Linked DNA regions of Homo sapiens: region 1 is linked to region 2. The links are contacts of gene promoters, found by promoter capture Hi-C in blood cells and fetal thymus (Javierre and others, 2016). All regions are on one chromosome and are shown on one strand. The core of a region is centred on a gene start or on the middle of the fragment in contact, and the rest is flanking DNA. Distances in the headings are between cores, read along the strand shown. Region 1 overlaps LOC105379412 (a long non-coding RNA gene). Region 2 holds the start of MGARP (mitochondria localized glutamic acid rich protein).

Region 1 (5,200 bases), core at 2,199-4,698, 54 kb before region 2:
GCTGCTCAGGGCATATGAAAACATTGATTTCCTCAATACAGCCAATCCTGTTTATCTTCTTCACTCTATTATTCTTTTTTTCACAGAACCTGGACAATGAGTCCACTTGCAGTACCAGCTTTAGGCCCAGGTGAGTGGTGGCCTCTGCCCTGGGCCCTGCACTTTAGACAACCTCACATATCACAAAGGCACGTGTATTTGTTAAAGAACACACGAGTGCCTCTGGCACTTGGGATCCAGTGTTCAGTGCACTAGAACCCAGGCCCTAAATATCCATTCTTCTGACCAACAGTGTTCAGGCCCCAGGGCCCATTCTGTCCCCATTCTGCATCTCTTGTGCCATGTGCTTGAAACAACACAACTGCCTCTACATGCTGACAGATTGGCCGGGTGCGGTGGTTCACGCCTGTTATCCCAACACTTTGGGAGGCCAAGGCAGGCGGGTCACGACGTCAGGAGATCGAGACCATCCTGGCCAACATGGTGAAACCCTCTCTCTACTAAAAATACAAAAATTAGATGGGCATGGTGGTGCACGCCTGTAGTCCCAGCTACTCAGGAGGCTGAGGCAGGAGAGTCACTTGAACTCAGGAGGTGGAGGTTGCAGTGAGCCGAGATCACGCCACTGCACTCCAGCCTGGCAAGAGAAAGACTCCGTCTCAAAAAAAAAAAAAAAAAAAAAAGAATGCTGACAGATTTATGGGGTGCTGCTGCTGACATTGGAGAGAGATGATGCTCTGTGCTGTGGGGAGGATTTGAGTAACAAAAGTTCTTAAGTAAAAGAAAAGACAAATTAATTTACCTTTCAGATTTTTTTTTTCTCAACAGCATGAATGCAGTAAATTCTTTCACTAAAAAAGCATTGGTTCACAATAGAATAAAAATGTATTTGTCCTGCTTTTACTCATGTTTCAATGTGTGGCTCTGGAGCTATTCATGAATTGGTGTTTTATTTGCAGTAGTTGCAATGGCAGCTGAGAAACATTTTGCAACGAAAAAAATTCATTTTACTCTTATATATGAATATGTGTGAGTTATGTTCATTATCTAATGCTGCATGACAAAATTATCCTGTAACCTAGTGTCTTAAAACATCGATAATCATTTATCATCTCTCACCATTTCTGATCATCAGAAATTCAGGAGTCGTTTGGCTGCAATATTCTGGTTTTAGATGTCTCATGAGGTTGTAGTCAGATGTCAACTAAGTCTATAGTTATCTGAAAGTTTGACTGAGGCTGGAAAATCTACTTCCAAAATGACTCACTGTCATATCTGGCAAGTTGGTGCTGGCTGTTGGCAGGAAGCCTCAGTTCCTCTGCATGTGGGCCTCTCTTCTTGAGCTGCTTGAATGTTCTCATTTCATGCTTGCCAGCTTCCCCCAGAGCAGGCAATCCCAGATTAAGAGAGAAGCTTCAATGAATTCTATTATCTTGATTTGGAAGTCATGCAGCATCTTTTCCACCATATTCTATTGGTCATACAGAACAGCCCTGAATCAGTGTGGCAGTAGACTATACAATGGTATGAATACCAGGAGGCAAGGACAATTGGAAGCCATCTTAGAAGCTGGTGTATTAGTCAGGGTTCTCTGCAGGCACAGAACTAATAGGATAGATGTATATATGAAGGGGAGTTTATTAAGGAGTTATTATTGACTCATGATCACAAGATGAAGTCTCACAATAGGCCACCTGCAAGCTGAGCAGCAAGGAAGTCAGAGTCCCGAAACCTCAAAAGTAAGGAAGCCAACAATGCCGCCTTCAGTCTGCAGCTAAAGGCCCCTGGAAAACCACTGGTGTAAGTCCAAGAGGCCAAAAGCTGAAGAACTTGTAGTCTGATGTTCAAGGGCAGGAAGCATCCAGCGTGGGAGAAAGATGAAGGCAGGAAGCATCCAGCGTGGGAGAAAGATGAAGGCCGGAAGACTCAGCAAGTCAAGTCCTTCCAAATTTTGCCTGCTTTATCCTAGCTGTGCTGGCAGCTGATTAGATGGTGCCCACCCAGATTGAGGGAGGGTCCGCCTCTCCCAGTCCACTGACTCAATGTTAATCTCCTTTGGCAACACCCTTACAGACACACCCAGAAGCAATACTCTGCATCCTTCAATCCAATCAAGTTGACACTCAGTGTTAACCATCGTAGCCAGCTATTGCATAGGTTTAGATACAATATTAACCATGACAACAATTAAAAAAAATCTTTTTAGAGATGAGGTCTTGCTATATTGCCCAGCCTGGAATGCAGTGACTATTCACAAGTGCAATCATAATAATGCACTACAGCCTCAAATTCCTGGCCTCAAGTGATCCTCCGTCTTCAGCCTACCAAGTAGCTGAGACTATAGGTGCACGCCACCATGCCTGGCCTGACATCAATTTTTTATATGGGAAAATAGATATTGAACACAATAATACAAAATATTAGCTGGGCCTAGTGCATGGACCATAGTCTCTGGCACTCTAGAGGCTGAGGTAGGAGGATTGCTTGAGCCCTGGAGTTTGAGGGTGCAATGAGCTATGATTGTGCCACTGCACTCCAGCCTGAGTGACAGATCAAGACTCTGACTCTAAAACAACAACAATAATGATAATAAATAATTGATGATTTGCTCAAATGAACACCAGAAAACAAATATACAAAATATATGAATTATTATTATCTTTATTATATCATTCCTGGGCTCAAGTGATCATCCCGCCTCATCCTCCCAAAGTGCTGTGATTACAGGTGTGAGATTGCCTGTACCCAAATGCACTCAACCTCAAGCTGTATTTGTATATTTAATTTATAATTGTTGATTCAAATGTACTCAAATTTTGTATACTTTGAATGCAGTTACATTTTATTTTGAATCTTTTTTTTTTCTTTTTTTTAGAAACAGGGTCTTGCTCTGTCGCCCAGGGTAGAGTACAGTGGCACGATCTTGGCTCACTGCAACCTCTGCCTCTCGGGTTCAAGTGATTCTCATGCCTCAGCCTCCCGAGTAGCTGGGATTACAGGAGCCCGCCACCATGCCTGGCTTATTTTTGTATTTTTAGTAGAAATGGAGTTTCACCACATTGGCCAGGCTGGTCTCGATCTCCTGACCTCAGGTGATCCACCCGTCTCAGCCTCCCAAAGTGCTGGGATTACAGGCATGAGCCACTGTGCCCAACATTAGTTTTGAATCTTTTAGATCATGGTTATCATTAACATACAAATTTTGTTAAAATCTTGATTATAACAACATAATTGGCTGGGCACAGTGACTCATGCCTGTAATCCTAACACCTTGGAAGGCTGAGGCAGGAGGACTGCTTGAGGCCAGGAGTTCAAGACCTGTCTAGGCAACACAGAGAGACCCCATCTCTATAAAAAATACAAAATATTGGCTGGGCGTGGTGGCTCACGCCTGTAATCCCAGCACTTTGGGAGGCCGAGGCTGGTGGATCACAAGGTCAGGAGTTCGAGACCAGCCTGGCCAACATGGTGAAACCCTGTCTCTACTAAAAATATAAAAAATTAGCCGGGTGTGGTGGCACGTGCCTGTAATCTCAGCTATTCGAGATGCTGAGGCAGGAGAATCGCTTGAACTTGGGAGGTGGAGGTTGCAGTGAGCCAAGATCATGCCACTGCACTCCAGCCTGGGTGACAGAGTGAGATTCCATCTCAAAAAAAAAAAATTACCTGGGTATGTTGGCATTTGACTGTAGTCTCTGCTTCTCAGCAAGCTGAGGCAGGAGGATTGCTTGAGCACAGGAGTTTGAGGCTACAGTCAGTGAGCTATGATTGTGCCACTGCACTCCAGCTTGGGTGACAGAGCAAGACCCTGGCTCTAAATAAAATAATAAAAAATAATTGGTGATTCGCTGAAATGAACCTCATGAAATAAATTCATAAAAATTTATGAATTATTATGGTCTTCATTATATCACTTATTAATAGACTATCCAGACAATAACAATTAGATGGCAAATGTGCAATAATAACTAAATTCAGTCATCTAATAATTTGCCAATTTTGGCCAGGTGCAGTGGCTCACGCCTATAATCCCAGCACTTTGGGAGGCCAAGGCAGGCAGATCACTTGAGGTCAGGGCTTCAAGACCAGCCTGGCCAACATGGAGAAACCCCATCTCTACTAAAAATACAAAATTAGCCTGTAATCCCAGCTACTCGGGAGGCTGAGGCAGAATTGCTTGAACCCGGTAGGCAGAGTTTGCAGTGAGCTGAGATCATGCCATTGCACTCCAGCCTGGGCAACAAGAGCGAAACTCTGTCTCAAAAAAGAAAAAAAAATTTGCCAATTTCTGTTTGTATGAAAAACCACAGCTTTATATACATTTCAGTTTTATTGCTCTGAAGGTATATTTTCCATGGAAAGAGGATAGATTTTATTAAACAGTCTGTTAACTTGGTTTACATTTTACACATATATAGATAAATAGTATGTGGGCATATGTTTGAATTTTTTTTTTTTTTTTTTGAGACGGAATCTCGCTTTCACCCAGGCTGGAGTGCAGTGGCGTGATCTCAGCTCACTGCAACCTCCGCCTCCTGGGTTCAAGTGATTCTCCTGCCTCGGCCTCCCGAGTAGCTGGGACTACAGGCCCCTGCCACCATGCCCGGCTAATTTTTTTTTGTATTTTTAGTAGAGACGAGGTTTCACCATGTTGGTCAGGCTGGTCTCGAACTCCTGACCTCATGATCCACCTGCCTTGGCCTCCCAAAGTGCTGGGATTACAGGCATGAGCCACTGTACCCGGCATATTTGAATTCTTGAGCTGCTTACCTGACTTGCAGCCCTCTTGGGGTAAGGGATGGAGGATTAGAGCCTTTCCTGGTCAGTTTACCATGTGTGAACACTTATGGAGGGACAGGGCTAGGAGAGGAAATAGACCTATTATATGTTTTTGTGGCAAAATAAAATCTGCACCATGGAATTTGCCCAATCACGTATGTCTAAATTGAGGGGGCATAAGCCCCCACAATACCCAAGGAATTCTAGTCTGGCAGGCAGGGCATATCAGCAGGCGTCTCCTGGCAGGAAGATGTTATTCAGAGTTAGGTAAATGGCAGTATTGGGTGGTCTGTCTAGCTCCAATAGGACCCAGATCAATTATATGTGATGAAGACTCAGTCCAACCCCAGGGAAAGAAAAGTGGCAAAACTTAAACATATAATGAATAGCCACATCCAATAAGTTTGTAGTCAGGAAAGAT
Region 2 (4,983 bases), core at 1,439-3,938:
ACTTAAATACAAATACAATGATGGACAAGTTACTTAAAAAGACAATGAAATGAGAAATTTTTCAATAAGGATTAATTAGACAAATTTTAGCACATTCATACAATGTGAAACAAATAGACATAACTTTTGCAGAACAATATTTACTTACATGAGAAAATATTTACAATGTATTAGGTGAAAAGTCATAGCAAAATACTCTGGGACTATCCAAGATTTGTGGAAATAATGTGCACAAGGAAGGAATGAGGGGAAAAAAAAGGTCTGGAAAACTAAATATACTAAAACGTAATTAGTTGTGTTCACTGAGTGGTAGGATTACAGGTGAATTCCATTTTTTATTTTACCTGTTTTTCCCCAATTATCTATTATAAATCTAAATTATTTATTCATTAAAAAGTTACCCTTTTAAGGCTGGGCTCGGTGGCTCACACCTGTAATCCCAGCACTTTGGGAGGCCGAGGTAGGTGGATCACCTTAGGTTGGGAGTTCAAGACCAGCCTGACCAACATGGAGAAACCCCATCTCTACTAAAAATGCAAAATTAGCTGGGTGTGGTGGCCCGTGCCTGTAATCCCAGCTACTCCGGAGGCTGAGGCAGGAGAATCACTTGGATCCGGGAGGCGGAGGTTGTGGTGAGCCGAGATCACGCCATTGCACTCCAGCCTGAGCAACAAGAGTGAAACTCTGTCTCAAAAAAATAAAATTACCCTTTTAAAAGCAAAAAGGAGAGAACAAAATGTGATGAGACACAGTTAAAAATTTTTCCTTCAATAAAACTGAAAAAAATTATTTTTCATCAAAGTAGAAAGTATGAACAAAAGGTTAAGTAATGTCCACGACTGAAGACAAATTTGTTTCCAATCAATAATAGTTCTTAAATACATTTTAAGTGCTGCAAAAATAGTTAGATGAAAATCAGAGAAAGACCAGTACCTTTACAAGCAGCATTGCTAGATACGTATTTAAAATTTTTAAACTACTTCTATTTTGCCGCAAATTGGGAAGAAAATTATTTGGAATTTCTGCAGCTACAAAAAAAAGGTGCGCGTGTGTGTGTGTGTGTTTGTGTGTGCGTGCACGCGCGCATGATGTCGGTGGGGAACGCAGACAGATAAAACGAAAGGCCACGGTCAGAGGACTAATCTTTCTCCCCGTTCTCAACAGAACAGTCCCGTTATCTTCCGAAGTTTAAAATAAATGGCTTCTCCCTACTTCATCAGTGTATATATATATTTAAAAGCTCTATATCATTTGGTATAAAGATCTAGAAAAATAAAGGCAATAAAGATCTAGGAAAACGAAGATGTCTTATTTCTGATACTTGAGGGATAACTTCCTTCCACCAGCATTTTACAAGAAAAATAAAGCGAGTTAGTTAGACCTCCGTCCTTCCCTCCCACCACCACCAACAGAGGCCTAATCAACGTGAAAAAAAAATCGGCCCATGGAATTCTCCGCGCACATCTTTCTCTCCTGCTGGAATCCACCCTCTGGGGTAAAATTATCTCGGAAGGCTCAGAAAGTGAGGCTAAGTGAAGAGAGCATTAAGAACCCTTCACGATATTGTCTAAGAGCCGTCCCCCAGTCGTGAGTGGAAGAGAGAGGGGTGACGGATGGGGACTAGGGAAAAGCGGCTGGGGCAGAACCGCCCTGGAGCGCAAGCCTGGTCCCAGAAGAAAAACAATCTTCCTTGCTCACACCTATTAAGCACCTACTATGTTCCCAGCACTATACGAAGCGCTTTCCTATATGTCCGTTTTTATTTAATAAGCCTCCAGTTCACACTGCAACTCCCCCTTTAGTTAATTGCTGAGTATTCTGCTTTTTCTCGCGTATCCTCAGAACCAAAGGTGTCGATATTTGGACTACAGAGCCAAGCAGTTGCAGGACGACGTGCAACCTCAAAGGAAAGTGTCCCGAAGGCCGCTTCCTTTTTGGGGGTTGTGGATCTCAGAGCCAGGCGCTCGCGGGGTTCAGGCTGCTGAGACCCTGCCAAGGGTTAGGTTTATTTACCCCACGAACATTCGCCCAGCGTCCACTGAGCGGGCCCTGCCTCACTGCCTCCCAGCGCTTGCCGGGCCCGCTCGCTGATCGGCGTCCACCTTCCCACCGTTCCTCTGCTTCCTCAGGAGATTGGAGAGCGAATGGTGCCTCTAACAATAAAAGTGGTAAGCTGCGACTTTGTCAGCCAGGCACGTTTTTAAGTGCTTTTAACCATACATTAACTCATTAAAAAGGAAAACCATCATCGCCCTCATTTTATAGATGAGGAAACAGGTTAAGCCATTTGTCCAAGATCAGGATGCGAACCCAGATAATCTGGACTCTGAGGCACCCTGGAAAAGTTCCCTACTTCCAAAGTCTGCAGGAGCTTCGGGACGTCTTCCCGGGAGTCTCCCCCAGTCTCCTCGACCTCCAATCCAGGCTTCTGCTGCTCTGGGTCGGGTTTGGCCAACTGGGTGCCGGCCGGTTCCCTGGCGCGGGCGAAATCTGCACCCGAGGCGCCCGTCCTCCTCTCCGGGCTAGACCTCCTTACTCACCGTCCTTTCCGAGCGGCGCGGGGTTGGGGGGCGCCCTCAGCGGCAGCGCCAGAGTCTTGGAGACCGCCCTGCGGAGATACATCGCGCCCGCTGTCCGCCGCGCAGCAGCCTCGGTACCCAGGCGCAGGCTGCCCTTCCACAGAGAGGCTGAGAGCCTGGCAGCGCCCCGCCCGGAGGAGGCACGTCGACCTTCATCCAGCCCCGCCTCCGCGGCCCCCGGGAGGTGGGGAGACCTTTGTAGTCCTCACCATCCTCCCCTAACCCATCTCCAGCTCTGTTGCTATCCCTGAGGTCTCTAGAGCTGACCGCGGCATCTCAGAAAAGGGATGGGGAACCTACAAGTCGCCGTCGCCTGCCTGGCTCATTCTGTACCACTGAATGTAACTCCTCACAGCAAGCTGGAAATGTTTTGGGAATTGGACGAGATTAAGACAAGGACACAGTTTATCACGCTGGATGTAATCTGAAACCATTTTATCTCCTGCATTCCGTTAGCTTTCCTAGGAGAGGGAAGGATAGCTGGAAGTTTCTTAAAAATGAGAAGAGCGAAGGGGTAGCCTCAGCCTTCCATTAGCGCACTGGGTGATGCTCAGAATCGTAAGAAAATCTGCAGACAATGGTTGAATTTCTAGACAGCTCACTGTTAAAACGACTTTAAAATATCAAAAACACTGTATATTCCTCTATGGGATGTGAAATTAATATTTCCACATCAGCGGCCGGGCACAGTGGCTCACGTTTATAATCCCAGCACTTTGGGAGGCCGAGGCAGGCGGATCACTTGAGGTCAGGAGTTGGAGAGCAGCCTGGGCAACATGGTGAAACCCCGTTTCTACTAAAAATACAAAAAATTAGCCGGGAGTGGTGGCGCGGGCCTGTAATCCCAGCTACTCGGGACGCTAAGGCAGGAGAATCGCTTGAACCCGGGAGGCGGAGGTCGCAGTGAGCCGAGATCATGCCACTACATTCAAGCCTGGGTGACAGAGCAAGACCCTGTCTCAAAAGCAAAACAAAACAAAACAAAAACCCCAAAAACAAAACAAAACAAACAAAACAAAAAAACACATCAACTAAAAATACTAAATTATTAGTTTTCCGTCTCATCGTGGCTACAAGAACTTGTCATGGTTTGAATATGGAAACCAATAATTTATTACGTTTATAACATTGTCTAAATGATTACTCTTTGGAAGACACCATTTCCTACTATAATAATCCCTTATGTGTGTTTGGCACTTGAAAGATTATAAAGCACTTTCACATCTATTATCTCTTTTAATTTTCACTGCAACCCTCTGAGGGAGGTGGCAATTATTCCCTTTAGCAAATGCCACCACCAGGTGGTGGGTGGGAATGTCCAGGGATTTACTGGTGGTCATGAATTAAAAAACAAAAAGGACATGAACATAATACTTCTAGCTTAAAGTTCTATTGGCATGTAACAGGCACAATATTTGTTCATTTGCTATGTAAATAGACGTTTCTCAGAAGTTATAGTCCTGAACCTAATTATAATTATATTTAACATATTCTCATAAGAAGAGTACAAGCCAATGATCAGATTGGTTTTTTGATACTCAGAAAGAGAGTTAACTAGTTTAATCACTAGGGTGACAGAGCGAGACTCAGTCTCAAAAAAAAAAAAAGTTTACAACATAGATGGGTGTGGTGGTACATGCCTGCAGTCCCAGCTACTCCAGAGGCTGAGGTGGGAGAACTGATTGAGCTCAGGAGGTCAAGACTGCAGTGAGCTGAGATCTTGCCACTGCACTCCAGCCTGGGTGACAGAGTGAGACCCTGTCTCAAAAAAAAAAAAAAAAAAAAAAAAAATCACACACAGTGGCTCACAGCACTTTGGGAGGTGGAGGCAGAAGGATTGCTCGTGCTAGGGAGTTCAAGTCCAGCCTGGCAAATATGGCAAAACCTCATCTGTTTCTTTTTCAGAAAGAAAAAAAAAAGGCACATTAGATATGAAATGTAAAAAATAAAGTAAAAAAAATAAAGGATATAAAATGTGCTCAGCTAGTTGGAGGAGGCAGTGCTAGATTCTGACTTCCAGCCTAAGGTGAAGCTCAAGGCTCTCCTGCTACACTCTGCTGCCTTTCAGTGTGGCACATGGCCGGATTCATTATATCCCACCATCTCTTATTAGATGGTACGGTCCAGTGGGAGGTTATCATGCTCTCTAGGTTGAATATGGCCATACCAGCTGGGATATAAAAGAACTGTGAGATAAATAGTTCCATTTCTCCAGATTATTTTCCTTAGTTAAAAGCTCATGCCTTTCAAGTTGAAGGGAATTTCTATCTACTCAGCTGCTCCTGTGGCTTTCCGTTTTGATGGCAAATTCTTTTCAAATCTTGATGAAACATTTTCCAAGAGAGGACATGCCCTCGAGTTGTCAAATTCACTCCAGAGCAGACTGTTTCTTCCAAACCCCAGA

What was found. Contacts are between HindIII fragments. The CHiCAGO score rates a contact against its expected background, and 5 or more counts as called.
Region 1: a contact is called between a fragment that was not itself captured here and the fragment with the promoter of MGARP in region 2, in 2 of 17 cell types (erythroblasts and M2 macrophages). The highest score is 5.5, in erythroblasts.

What each region holds. Positions count from the first base shown.
Region 1 is chr4:139,222,574-139,227,773 of GRCh38, forward strand. It overlaps LOC105379412 (a long non-coding RNA gene), which reads left to right. Exons shown (of 4, transcript XR_007058273.1): 2 at 87-130. Among named protein-coding and RNA genes, the nearest start is that of ELF2, 48 kb to the left of the region's middle. The HindIII fragment of the contact is 4,075 bases long and covers 1,412-5,200 here.
Region 2 is chr4:139,277,537-139,282,519 of GRCh38, forward strand. MGARP (mitochondria localized glutamic acid rich protein) reads right to left here and starts at 2,689. Exons shown (of 4, transcript NM_032623.4): 1 at 2,541-2,689. The coding sequence starts at 2,622. RefSeq lists an enhancer at 2,444-2,653. The HindIII fragment of the contact is 26,288 bases long and covers 1-4,983 here.